2 separate regions of the Homo sapiens genome follow, and region 1 is linked to region 2. Evidence: promoter capture Hi-C in human tissues and cell types (Jung and others, 2019). All regions are on one chromosome and are shown on one strand. Each heading gives the region's core, a stretch centred on a gene start or on the middle of the fragment in contact. The rest is flanking DNA. Distances are from core to core; before and after follow the strand shown.

Region 1 (6,061 bases), core at 3,296-5,795, 36 kb before region 2:
GGGGAACACAGACAATAAGCAAATAAATACGTGAATATTTAATGTATTGAATAAGTGCTCTGAGGAAAAATAAATCAGGTAAGGAGGATATGGAATTGGGGTTGGGAGAGGTATGAATCCAATGTAATAGACTGATGAAAGGTTTCAGTGAGCAAGTGCAAAGGTTTGAAATTAAACTGATTTTTCTGGAATGTGTTTCAATCTAGGGAAAGCAAAAGCTAGACTGCAATTAATTGAAGAGTGAATGGAAAAGAGGAAGAAAATTGCTAATAAAAGAGGAGCAATGGAGTAAATAACTTCTCCAAGAAGCTCAACGCTAAAGGGAAAGCATGAGTTCCTAAGCACAGGTAGAAGAGGTAAAGAAAAAGTAGGAAAAAAAGGCTTAGAAACAGATAGGTGTGTAGGTTGGAGGATACAAAACCAGGTTGTGAAGTTGCACAGTCTCTCAGAGGCCATCTTTCACTCTGGTCTGTGAGAATGTTGCTCCCTAGAGTTGTGAAACAGGTGTTACCAACTCACCCCCTACACTGACTCCATCTTTGCTATAAATTGGAAAGAAAGAACATCTATTCTCAATAGAGCAAATACAGGCATATCATGGTGGTTTTGACTGGTTGGGATACAGAAAATAAACAAACACATATGTAGAATTTATCAAAAGAGCTAATGTCACAATGCAAAGGAAGTTGAATCTAGGAATAAACAAAATGTTGGCCACATAGCATTGGAAGCTCAGAGGATGGTGGGCCACTCATGGGGCCCTTTACTTACACTGTCTCATTTAGTGTTATCAAGAGTCCTGCAATAGGATATTATTTTTTATAAATGAGAAAACTGAAGTCCACAGTGGTGAAGTAACATGCACAAACTCATGCAGCTGGGAAGTGATAGAGCCAAAATTCCAAAGACAATGAACTTTCCCCTGTAGCACGCGGCTTTACATACAAAAAAGAATAGGATATATGATCCCTGCTCTCAGAGCTCACACACTATTAGGGGAAAAGATATATAAATAACTGTAAAACAATGAGATGAATGGGAAACTGGTTTATGAGCAAAGTACTATGGGAATATAGGCTTGTAAATCCATTCTCTCAGGCAGCTGTATATTTACCGTAGACAGGGAAGGAGAATAAGAACGACAAAGGCAAGATAGTAATACATTTCCATGATGATACAGTGAATATCCTTCATTGCCATCTTAAATAGGTATTCATAATTTACCATTTAGAATCAGAAATTTCTTAAGTTTATGAGGTTATTATGACCCTTATTTGCAGATTTTTTTAAGTAGAAAGAGAGTTTAAGATTCATGCATTTAAAGTAAAGTGCTTCAAGATACCAGTATTTTTATATTTTGTGTAAGGAATGGGGGGAAATAAGAATATAAATATAAACATATAAATATATAGCTTATTTGTGCATAAATGTATACTGAAGGTCAAATAAAAAACCTCTGGGGTAGAAGTTTGTGGAATGGGCTAAAAGAGATAGGAATGGAAGCAAGACTTTTCTGAATATATCTTTGTATAGAGATTTTCTTTTTAATCCATGTAACCATTTTACATATTCAAGGAAAAACCAGTGCTGGGCATGGTGGCTCATGCCTGTAATCCCAGCACTTTGAGAGGCCAAGGCAGGTGGATCACGAGGTCAGGAGTTCAAGACCAGCCTGGCCAACATAGTGAAACCCCATCTCTACTAAAATTACAAAAAATTAGCCAGGCATAGTGGCACATGCCTGTAATCCCAGCTACTCGGTAGGCTGAGGTAGGAGAATTGCTTGAACCTGGGAGGCAAAGGTTGAAGTGAGCCGATATCACGCCATTGCACTCCAGCCCGGGTGACAGTGAGAGATTCCATCTCAAAAAAAAAAAAAAGAAAAGAAAAGAAAAAAGAAGCTAACAGTAAAATTAAAAACAGACTGAAACAAATTACCCAAACTCTGTGTTGAATTGATAATATAGCCACACAGAGACAAAAATTTGGAATGAATTTTGAACACTGTGTAAGATATACATCTTACTACTGTATATTCTAAGGACAAAAAGAATTTCAAAAACATATCGAACTTCATACTGTATCTTATTTTTAGTAGTAAAGATAGCACTTTGATTTTGTGACTATTTTGTGTATGTTTTAGGACAAAGCAAATATTTTGATATTATTAGAAACTAAGGTGATCAGTGTGAGAAAAAGTGTTCATATATCAAATTATAGAAGCTAATATGTATTGTTAAAATCTGAATTGATCTGTGTATGAAAAGACACAATCAACAGAGTTAAAAGGCAATGCACAGAATGAGAAAAAATATTTGTAAATCAAACATCCGACAAGGGGTTCATATAAAAATATATAATGAACTCCTATGGCTCACAAAACAACTCAATTTTTTTAATGAGCAAAAGATCTGAAAAGACATTGCCCCAAAGAAGATATACACATGCCCACAAGCACTTCACTAATGATTAGGGAAATACAAACCAAAAACACAATGAGGCTGGGCGCAGTGGCTCACACCTGTAATCCCAGCACTTTGGGAGGTCGAGGCGGGCAGATCACTTGAGGCAGGAGTTCAAGACCAGCCTAGCCAACATGGTAAAATCCTGTCTCTACTAAAAATACAAGTTACGCTGGGTGTGGTGGCTCATGCCTGTAATCTCAGCATTTTGGGAGGCCGAGGAGGGTGGATCACGACGTCAGGAGATCGAAACCATCCTGGCTAACATGGTGAAAACTCGTCTGTATTAAAAATACAAAAAACTAGCTGGGCGTGGTGGCATGTACCTGTAGTCCCAGCTATTCGGGAGGTTGAGGCAGGAGAATTGCTTGAACCCAGGAGGCGGAGGTTGCAGTGAGCCAAGATTGTGCCATTGCACTCCAGCCTGGCCAACAGAGTGCACTGTCTTGTACACTGTTGGTGTGAATGTATAATGGTGTAATGCTATGAAAAACAGCATGGCGGTTTCTCAAAAAAACTAAAAATAGAAATAACCATATGATCCAGCAATTCCACTTCTGAGTATATAGCCAAAAGTATTGAAAACAGGATCTCAAAGAAATATTTTACAGCCATGTTCATAGCAGCATTATTCACAATAGCCAAGAGATGGAAGCATTACCAATGTTTATTGATGAATGAATGCATAAGAAAAATGTGGCATATTTGCAACATACAATATGTATGTTGTAAATACACAATGGAATATTACTCAGCCTTAGAAAGAAAGGACATTCTGACACATGGTACAACATGAATGAACGTTGAGGACATCATGCTAAGTGAAATAAACCAGTCACAAAAAGACAAATACTGTGTGATTTCTCTCATGTGAGGTTCCCTAGAGTGCTCAAATTCATAGAAACAGAAAGTCAGAATAGTAGTTGCCAGGAGCTGGAGGGAGAGGGAAATGGAGAGGTGTTGTTTAATGGGTATAGAGTTTCAGTTTTGCAAGATGAAAACATTTCGTAGATTGGTTCCACAACAATGTGAATATACTTAACACTACTGAACTCTACAATTAACAATGGCAAATTTTATATGCTCTTTACAATAAAAACATTTTAAATTACTTTGCTGTAGAGGGAGATGCTATCTTCACCATCTAAGGCTGTTTTATCTAAACATCCTTGAAAAGATAGTCCAGAAAAAAATAAAGGGCAATCTACATTCTACAAGACAACTGGCTCCATCCATTTAAAAAGTCAATGTCATTTTTAACAAAAGGGTATTTTGGGGGATAATGTAGAATAAAAGAAGGCATAATCAAGTGCAATGCATGAATCTTAATTGGATTCTGAATCAGAAAAAGAAGGGCTATAAAAGACATTTTGTGGGCACTTGGGGAAATCTGAACATAGACTGGATATTAGATTATTTTAGGGAATTGCTTTCTTAGGTGTAATAATAATAATATGTGTTTTGTAGAAGCACAACCTTCATTTTTTTTTTCGAGTCTCCCTGTCGTCCAGGCTGGAGTGCAGTGGCGCGATCTCGGCTCACTGCAATCTCTGCCTCCCGGGTTCACACTATTCTCCCGCCTCAGCCTCCGGAGTAGCTGGGACTACGGGCGCCCACCACCAGGCCCAGCTAATTTTTTTGTATTTTTAGTAGCGACGGGGTTTCACCGTATTAGCCAGGATGGTCTCGATCTCTTGACCTCGTGATCCGCCCGTCTCGGCCTCCCAAAGTGCTGGGATTACAGGCGTGAGCCACCGCGCCCGGCCGAAGCACAACCTTATTCTTAGAAGATACACTCTGAAGTGTCATGTGTATCTGAAAGAAATCTTCAAATTGTTGAACAACACATGTACAGTAAATTGAACTACATGAAATTGTTTCTATTCAATTTTTATTATAATTTCTTTGTTTTTTTTTTTTGAGACGGAGTCTCGCTGTGTCGCCCAGGCTGGAGTGCAGTGGCGTGATCTCGGTGCACTGCAAGCTCCGACTCCCGGGTTCATGCCATTCTCCTGCCTCTCAGCCTCCCGAGTAGCTGGGACGACAGGCGCCCACCACCACGCCCGGCTAATTTTTGATATTTTTTTAGTAGAGACGGGGTTTCACCGTGTTAGCCAGGATGGTCTCGATCTCCTGACCTAGTGATCCGCCCGCCTCAGCCTCCCAGAATGCTGGGATTACAGGCATGAGCCACCGCGCCCGGCCTTTTTATTATCATTTCATATACTTCAACCTGATAAATAAGTATAGCAAATATTAATGGTTGTTTCAGCCTGGTGATAAATATATGAATGTTACTATCCTATTCTTTCAACTTTTTTGATTACTTGGAAATTTTATTAATAAAGTTTTGAAAAAAAACAAAATAAGAAAAAAAGTTTGACATCAAACTCACGGAGGAAGTGAATGCTACTTTTACCACTTAGTACCTAATGATGGCAACAATGCCAAGAGAAGTTTCCGGGGTGGGAGCTGTTGGGGGCACCTGAGGCAGCTTTATTCCATCCACATCTTCCATTAAGAAGGCTTATTGCCACCCACAATAAGCATAACCCTACCTAAGAATAGTGTGCTTGGCTACTCTGGGCATACTGCCTATGGGGTACTCCTGCTCTGCAAGGAGCAGTAAAAAAAAAATTTAAATTAAATTAAATTAAAAAACAGTGTGCTTTAGCCCAAGCCTCCTAAGCACTAGATTTTGGCTCCTAAGGCGCACTAAGTGGATGCTTTGTGACCTGGGCGAGGTGCTTAATTCTCCAAGGACTTAGTATTAAGTAAATATGAAGAATAAGGAGGAAAGAGTTCAGGATGACTTCCACATTTCTGGCCAGAGTGACACCTTAGGAAGAGAAAGCGTAAGCATCCCTGGGGAGTTAGGAGTTATTTCAGGCCAAAGCACTGAAGGAAAGAGAGACCTTAAAGAGAAGCTTTAACAGTGGTATATTGGACTCAGTGCCGTCTTTTTATTTAATTATTTAATTATTTACTTATTTTTATTTTTTTACTTTTTGAGACAGAGTCTCACTCTGTCACCCAGGCTGGAGTGCAGTGGCCTGATCTCGGCTCACTGCAACTTCCGCCTCCTGGGTTCAAACAATTCTCCTGCCTCGGGAGAATCCTCCGAAGCAGCTCAGACTGCAGGCGCGCGCCACCACACCCGGCTAATTTTTTTTTTTTTTTTTTTTTTTTTTTGAGACAGAGTCTTGCCCTGTTGCCCAGGCTGGAGCACAGTGGTGTGATCTTGGCTCACTGCAAGCTCCGCCTCCCCACAGCCGGCTAATTGTATTTTTAGTAGAGACGGGGTTTCACCATGTTGGCCATGCTGCTCTCCAACTCCTGACCTCAGATGATCTGCCCGCCTTTCCCTCCCAATGTGCTGGGATTATAGGCATCAACCACCCTACTCAGCCTATATAGCCATCTAATTTAATATTGACCAAATGAAATTTCTTTTTGTACCCCAAGCTGATGAAGAGGAATGGAGCAATTTTGTTTTTCAAATATTCTATAATGAGCATACATTATTTTTAAGGAAAAATTATTTTTAAAGTGGTTCTACGGTATAAAACTCAGAAAAAGCAAAATTTTAATTACAAGTA
Region 2 (6,769 bases), core at 2,365-4,864:
CCACCAACAATAGATTTGAAAAGTCTTTCAACATTGGTTTCATTCTGATTGACAAAATCCCAGGTCTTTAGTCTCCTCATGTCCTTTCTCACGTCCAGATTGTGATTTTTTTCCCCAAAAACACCTGAAATTAGAACCTCAAAAAATGATGGCTCCGTTCAATGTGATTGATAAAATAGTAATCATTAAATGACAAAACCATTCTAAAACTCAAACTTTCTAAGTGATATTGAAAGGAAACTAGAGAGGACACTAATTTTCCCTGGGGCAATGACTTATAATTATACAAGCCTTTTTCATTCCATTATAACTCACAGGTCAAGAATATGCAGGTATGCCCAACACCCACTAAAATTATCTTTGCACAACACCAAAGTCTCTTCTCTTTACAGCACATCCTGACGTGGAGAGTTTATTGTTATTTGCTTAATTTTATCAAAGTTAATAGCCAATTTGGATACATTTTCACATTATTTATCTGCTTGGCATTTCACACTGATCAATTTACTAAATTTCTGCTAAACTTTAATTTAGCATTGTGCTGTGTATACCCAAATGCTCCCTGCCTGGCGTCCACAAATGGGCTAACATTTCCTTGCACAATTGGTGTGTTACCAGGATTGCTTCATTTATCAATTCCTAGGAGCTACATCCAAGTGATCAAAGCTTTTTTAAAAAAAAGATACCCCAGAATACTACAATTAAATATGAACTCCATGTGGCCCTGACTTCCCTTGTTTAGGGCAGCCTAAGGAGAAAACAGACAAATAACAATCATCTTCATCAGTCCTGCAATACTTGTTGCTGCTGGTATGCATCACGAGATCGGTGGTTCACACAGCAATCTTCCCAGTCTACCTAAGAGGGCAGGGAAGACCTTGCTGGCCTGTGGTTCAGTTATTTGTTGGAAGAAGCACTTATTTTATTTTATTTATTTATTTAGAGATGGAGTCTCACTCTGTCGCCTAGGCTGGAGTACAGTGGCGAGATCTCGGCTCACTGCAAGCTCCGCTTCCCGGGTTCACGCCATTCTCCTGCCTCAGCCTCCCGAGTAGCTGGGACTACAGGCGCCCACCACCATGCCCAGCTAATTTTTGGTATTTTTAGTAGAAACGGGGTTTCATTGTGTTAGGCAGGATCTCGATCTCCTGACCTCGTGATCTGCCCATCTCAGCCTCCCAAAGTGCTGGGATTACAGGCGTAAGCCACCGCACCCGGCTGGAAAAGGCACTTATTTTTATATAGACTATTCAACTATAGAATAAGATACTGGGCATTTAAGACAGTTCTTTCATACTAGAGTCTAGCAAACTATGTATTAATATTAAATATAACCAAATATGTACTTTCTTAATGTTTAAGGTCCCCCCCATTATTCACATTTTTTTTTTTTTTTTTTTTTTTTTTTTAGACAGAGTCTTGCTCTGTCACCTAGCCTGGAGTGCAGTGGCATGATCTTGGCTCACTGCAACCTCCACCTCCCAGGTTCAAGTGATTGTCCCACCTCAGGCTTCTGAGTAGCGGGGATTATAGGTGTGCACCACCACGCTTGGCTAATTTTTGTATTTTTAGTAGAAACGGTGTTTCACCACTTTGGCCAGGCTGGTCTCAGATGTCTGGCCTCGTGATCTGCCCACCATGGCCTCCCAAAGTGCTGGGATTACAGGCGTGAGCCACCACACCCAGCCCACAGTTAATCATTTTAATAAGCAAGTATATTATATTCCAAATACATGTTACATCTTTTCAGATAAGAGCACAAATTAGTGGAATTAAGAAGACTGATTGAAATAAGCCAGAATTCAATGGAAGGGAAACTGGTGTGTCTTATTAGCTTTCTTTCAGCAAGAGCTGCTGAACAAAGGAAATACTGTACTTCCTGAAAGGGAAACAGAGATTTGAAGTGTAACTATGCAGATTAGGGCTCCTTCCTCTTCCCCGCCACCCCCACCCAAAAAAAAGAAAAGAAAGGAAAGAAGAAGAAAATTGTTTTGGGTGGAATTAGCCACAGACTTGACCCAATTCTTTCCTCGAACATGGACTGGGAAACCTGGGCAAAGTCAGCCAGTAAGATCCTTGCAGAACACATCACATCACTTGGGCAAGTGTGAGCACTTAAGACAATTACAATGCTTCTTTTAAGTCACTGAGACCTGGTAACCAAACTAAGAAGAAGCAAGCTCCCAAAAGTTGAACTGGCTTCTCTCAGATTTGTTTGCTTCCACGACAATAACATTTTTATTTTTGAAGCCCCAAATCATTACTGATTTAGTGATTATAACACATTTTCTTTCTTATGAAAATGATCGGTAAAACATAGAATGGTGAGACAATCTATATTTAGAGCTGAATGGAAAAAGACTTATAAAACAGACCAGCCTACTTGTCAATCATAATATGGAATATGATCATAACATTAGTCATAATATGTCTCTTTAATTTCTTTCTACCTTGCTTATTTTCTTTCAACATGTTGTTCTCAATACCTCGACTGACTTCTTACAATGTTTGCATTGAGAATTGTTCTAAGAAATTAAGAACTTAGATATATTTTATACACATTTGAAAATACTTCTACCTAGCATTCTTGTATGTAAACTTTAGAGACAAATTCTAAATGCATCAGCTGAGAAGGTGGGGAAAAGTTGTGAATATTCTCAATGGCTAACAGCATCACCCAACCTGAGACCCCATGTTTTTGCTGAAACCAGCTAGGACAAACGCTTCTAAATCTCCCTTCATAGCTGCAGAAAAAGTAAATGAATTACACTAATGTCCATGGGACCAATGATTCGTGAAAGAATAAAATGGAAAACGAAGCAGTTATTTTGTCCCTTCTGACCAACATGCACATGCTTGTGTGTATATATACCAATAGTATTTATTGGGAGGAAATCTCTAGTTCTAAAGCAGCTCGTGTAAACAGGCTTCATTTATCTGTTCATTCGAGTTTGCTCTGCCCTGGTCCCACAGGTTGGGTGCAGCGTTCCTGGGACGCCCTGGCTCGCCCCATCTACTCAGCTTCCCAAATGCCCGCAAGCCCAGTTCACGCCTGGAAGTCTACCCCTCGCGTCGTCAGCTTAAAGCCCTCCTTAATGAGGACCGTCTTTAATTTAATTTAATCCTTGTATTTCATACTTTTTGTATATCAGAAAGGATTTCTTTTTGGAAAGAAACAGTAGCTCAAGACGCGATTTTTCAAGGTTCTGTGGCCAGTCTCAGTCACTCGGCAACATCTGAGCCAAGGCAGAGCCAGGTTCACTTAAATTCGGGACTCCGAAGTGTGGAGACCAATACCCCTTAAAAGCGTCCCCTGGGGCCGAGGCGGGTGTGGGGAGGGGCCGCCACCGTCCACCTGCGCCTTCAGGCTGCGGTGAGGTGGCAGAGTCCGGAGGCATTTCCCGACCCCAGAGGAGCCTCCAAGAGTCTCGCGGCACGGGCGCGAACACCAGGATGCGGAGGGCGCTTCTTACCTTTCGAGACTGACGGGCAGCAACCCCAGGCCGTCCGGGCGCGTGGCGAGGCGGACGGGAAGGCTCAGGGGCGGCGAGGTAGAGCGCCAAGCATCCCGCGTCCCAGACTGCACGCCCTGACCCCGCGGCGTTCGGCTCCCACAGCCCCGCGGGGCCCGCCCCCGACGGCGTGGGGAGGGCGGGCGCCGGGAGGGCGGGGGGCACACGGGACCGGGCGTGGTCGGTTCCCGCCCCTTCTGGGCAGCGCATCCTTTCCTGCCGGTCCCCAGCTCGCCAGCTGCTGGACAGGAAACAGGCAGGAAACGCGCGGCCAGCCAAGGTCCTGCGGGAGGGGGTGCGGCCCCGGCAGACGCAGGTCCCCTCAACACACACCCGCATCCACAGCACACAGCCGGACCAGGGGTTTAACGAAGGACGAGCGAGCAATCTCCTGACACTTCACATTCAATCACTTCTACTCTAGTGTCATTTTCTTCAGGGAGACCACAAAAATAAGTCCTTGAAGCGGCACAGCATGTGGGCTGTAAACTTGCTTTCCCAAATGTCACTGAAGAGTTTCAAAAGAACATAGTTCAGGTAAAGTGCATCTCCATTTTCTTTCCCTGGGGTCAGAATTGGTATTAAAAATAACTAAACATTTTAAAAACTCTACTCTGCAAGTGTTAAAGTTCTTTTTATAGGAATGTGAATTAGTTCAGCCACTGTGGAAAGCAGTTTGGAGATTTCTCAACTAAAAACAGAAAGATCATTCGACCCAGCAATCCCATTACTGGGTGTATGCCCAAAGGAAAATAAATCATTCTGCCAAAAAGACACCCGCACTATGTTTATCACAGTACTATTTACAATAGCAAAGACATGGAATCAACCTAGGTGCCCATCAACAGTAGACTGGGTAAAGAAAATGTGGTACATACACACCACGAAATACTAAACAGCCATAAAAAAAGAACAAAATCACGTCCTCTGTAGCAACATGGATGCAGTTGGAGGACATTATCCTAAGTGAATTAACATAGGAACAGAAAACCAAACACCGAATGTTCTCACTTATAAGTGGGAGCTTAAACAACGGGTACTCATGGACATAAAGATGGCAACAACAAACACTGGAGACTCCAAGTCAAGGGAGGGAGAGAAAGGGGCAAGGGCTGAAAAACATCCTATTGGGTACTGTGTCCGGAATTGGTGGGTTCTTGGTCTTTCTGACTTCAAGAATAAAGCTGCGGACCCTCGCGGTGAGTGTTACAGTTCTTAAAGGCGGCCTGTCCGGAGTTTGTTCCTTCTGATGTTCGGATGTGTTCAGAGTTTCTTCCTTCTGGTGGGTTCGTGGTCTCGCTGGTTCAGGAGTGAAGCTGCGGACCTTCGCCATGAGTGTTACAGCTTTTAAGGCGGCGCGTCTGGAGTTGTTCGTTCCTCCCAGTGTGTCCGTAGTCTCGCTGGCTTCAGAAGTGAAGCTGCAGACCTTCGCAGTGAGTGTTACAGCTCATAAAGGCAGTGTGGACCCAAAGAGTGAGCAGCAGCAAGATTTATTGCAAAGAGCCAAGGAACAAAGCTCCCACGCTTTGCAAGGGAACCCCAGCGGGTTGCCACTGCCGGCGCGTGCAGCCTGCTTTTATTCTCTTATCTGGCCCCACCCACATCCTGCTGATTGGTTCATTTTACAGAGAGCGGAGTGGTCTGTTTTGACAGGGCGCTGATTGGTGCATTTACAATCCCTGAGCTAGACACAAAGGTTCTCCACGTCCCCACTACATTAGCTAGATACAGAGTGTCCACACAAAGGTTCTCCAAGTCCCCACAAGAGTAGCTAGATACAGTGTCCATTGGTGCATTCACAAACCCTGAGCTAGACACAGGGTGCTGATTGGTGTGTTTACAAACCTTGAGCCAGATAGAGTGCCGACTGGTGTATTTACAATCCCTTAGCTAGCCATAAAGGTTCTCCAAGTGCCCACCAGTGAGGAGCCTAGCTGGCTTCACCCAGTGGATCCCGCACCGGGGCTGCAAGTGGAGCTGCCTGCCAGTCCCGCGCCCTGTGCCCGCACTCCTCAGCCCTTGGGTGGTCGATGGGACTGGGCGCTGTGGAGCAGGGGGTGGTGCTCGTCAGGGAGCTCGGGCCTCACAGGAGCCCATGGAAGGTGGGGGAGGCTCAGGCATGGCGGGCTGCAGGTCCCGAGCCCTGCCCTGCTCAGGGAGGCAGCTAAGGCCCTGCGAGAAATTGAGCGCAGCGCCGGTGGGCCGGCACTGCTGGGGGACCCAGCACACCTTCTGCAGCTGCTGGCCCAGGTGCTAAGCCCCTCATTGCCCGGGGCCGGCAGGGCCCACCGGCCGCTCCGAGTGCGGGCCCGCCGAGCCCACACCCACCCGGAACTCGTGCTGGCCCGCAAGCACCGTGCGCAGCCCCGGTTCCCGCCAGCGCCTCTCCCTCCACACCTCCCCGCAAGCTGAGGGAGCCAGCTCCAGCCTCAGCCAGCCCAGCCCAGGAAGGGGCTCCCACAGTGCAGCAGCGGGCTGAAGAGCTCCTTAAGTGCCGCCAAAGTGGGAGCCCAGGCAGAGGAGGTGCTGAGAGCCAGCGAGGGCTGTGAGGGCTGCCAGCACGCTGTCACCTCTCAGTACTATGTTCATTATCTAGGTGACAGGATCAATAGAAGCCCAAACCTCAGCAACATGCAATTACCCTTGTAACAAACCTGCATATGCACCCCCAAATCTAAAACTAAAATTTAAAAAAGAGTTTTAAGTTTTTGGGAATATATGAGAGGATAGATTCCACCTTAACAGCTGTGCTTGTTAAATTGAGTAACTATGCAGTATGGTTTAACACTTGCTTTTCTTTTATGCAGAATATACCATTTGACAGCAAAACTAATATCCGGTATGCAGAATATACCATTTGACAGCAAAACTAATATCTGGTAATGGAAATCAAAGCACAGTGGTGGCCTTTGGAGAGCGATGACAGGAAAGAGGCACCAGGAAACTTTTAGGGGGCGACAGATATGTTCTACTGTTTGGAGTGTGAGTTACATGGATTTACTAAGCATTTGTTAAAACTTGTCTGACTGAAGATCTGTGCATTACAGTTTGTAAACTGTACCTCATTTAAAAAAAAATTTTTAAATATGTGATTTGCAGGTCTTTGACTCTATCACTTCATTTTTAAAAAGGTAGCACAAGTATTTACTTATATGTTACCAGAGGTATAAAATTTTCTAAGAACTTATATTGTCAGCCAGGTGCAGTGGCTCATGGCTGTAATCACAACAATTTGGGAAACCAAGGCAGGAGGTTTG

What was found. Contacts are between HindIII fragments. The study calls those that stand out against the background at their distance.
Region 1: a contact is called between a fragment that was not itself captured here and the fragment with the promoter of THSD1 in region 2, in 1 of the 25 tissues and cell types used here (heart left ventricle).

The regions. Positions count from the first base shown.
Region 1 is chr13:52,365,524-52,371,584 of GRCh38, forward strand. No RefSeq gene overlaps it. Among named protein-coding and RNA genes, the nearest start is that of LINC02333, 34 kb to the left of the region's middle. The HindIII fragment of the contact is 4,395 bases long and covers 2,349-6,061 here.
Region 2 is chr13:52,402,558-52,409,326 of GRCh38, forward strand. It overlaps THSD1 (thrombospondin type 1 domain containing 1), which reads right to left and starts at 3,615. Exons shown (of 5, transcript NM_018676.4): 1 at 3,474-3,615; 2 at 1-124. The coding sequence starts at 43. RefSeq lists a silencer at 3,545-3,704. The HindIII fragment of the contact is 14,115 bases long and covers 1-6,769 here.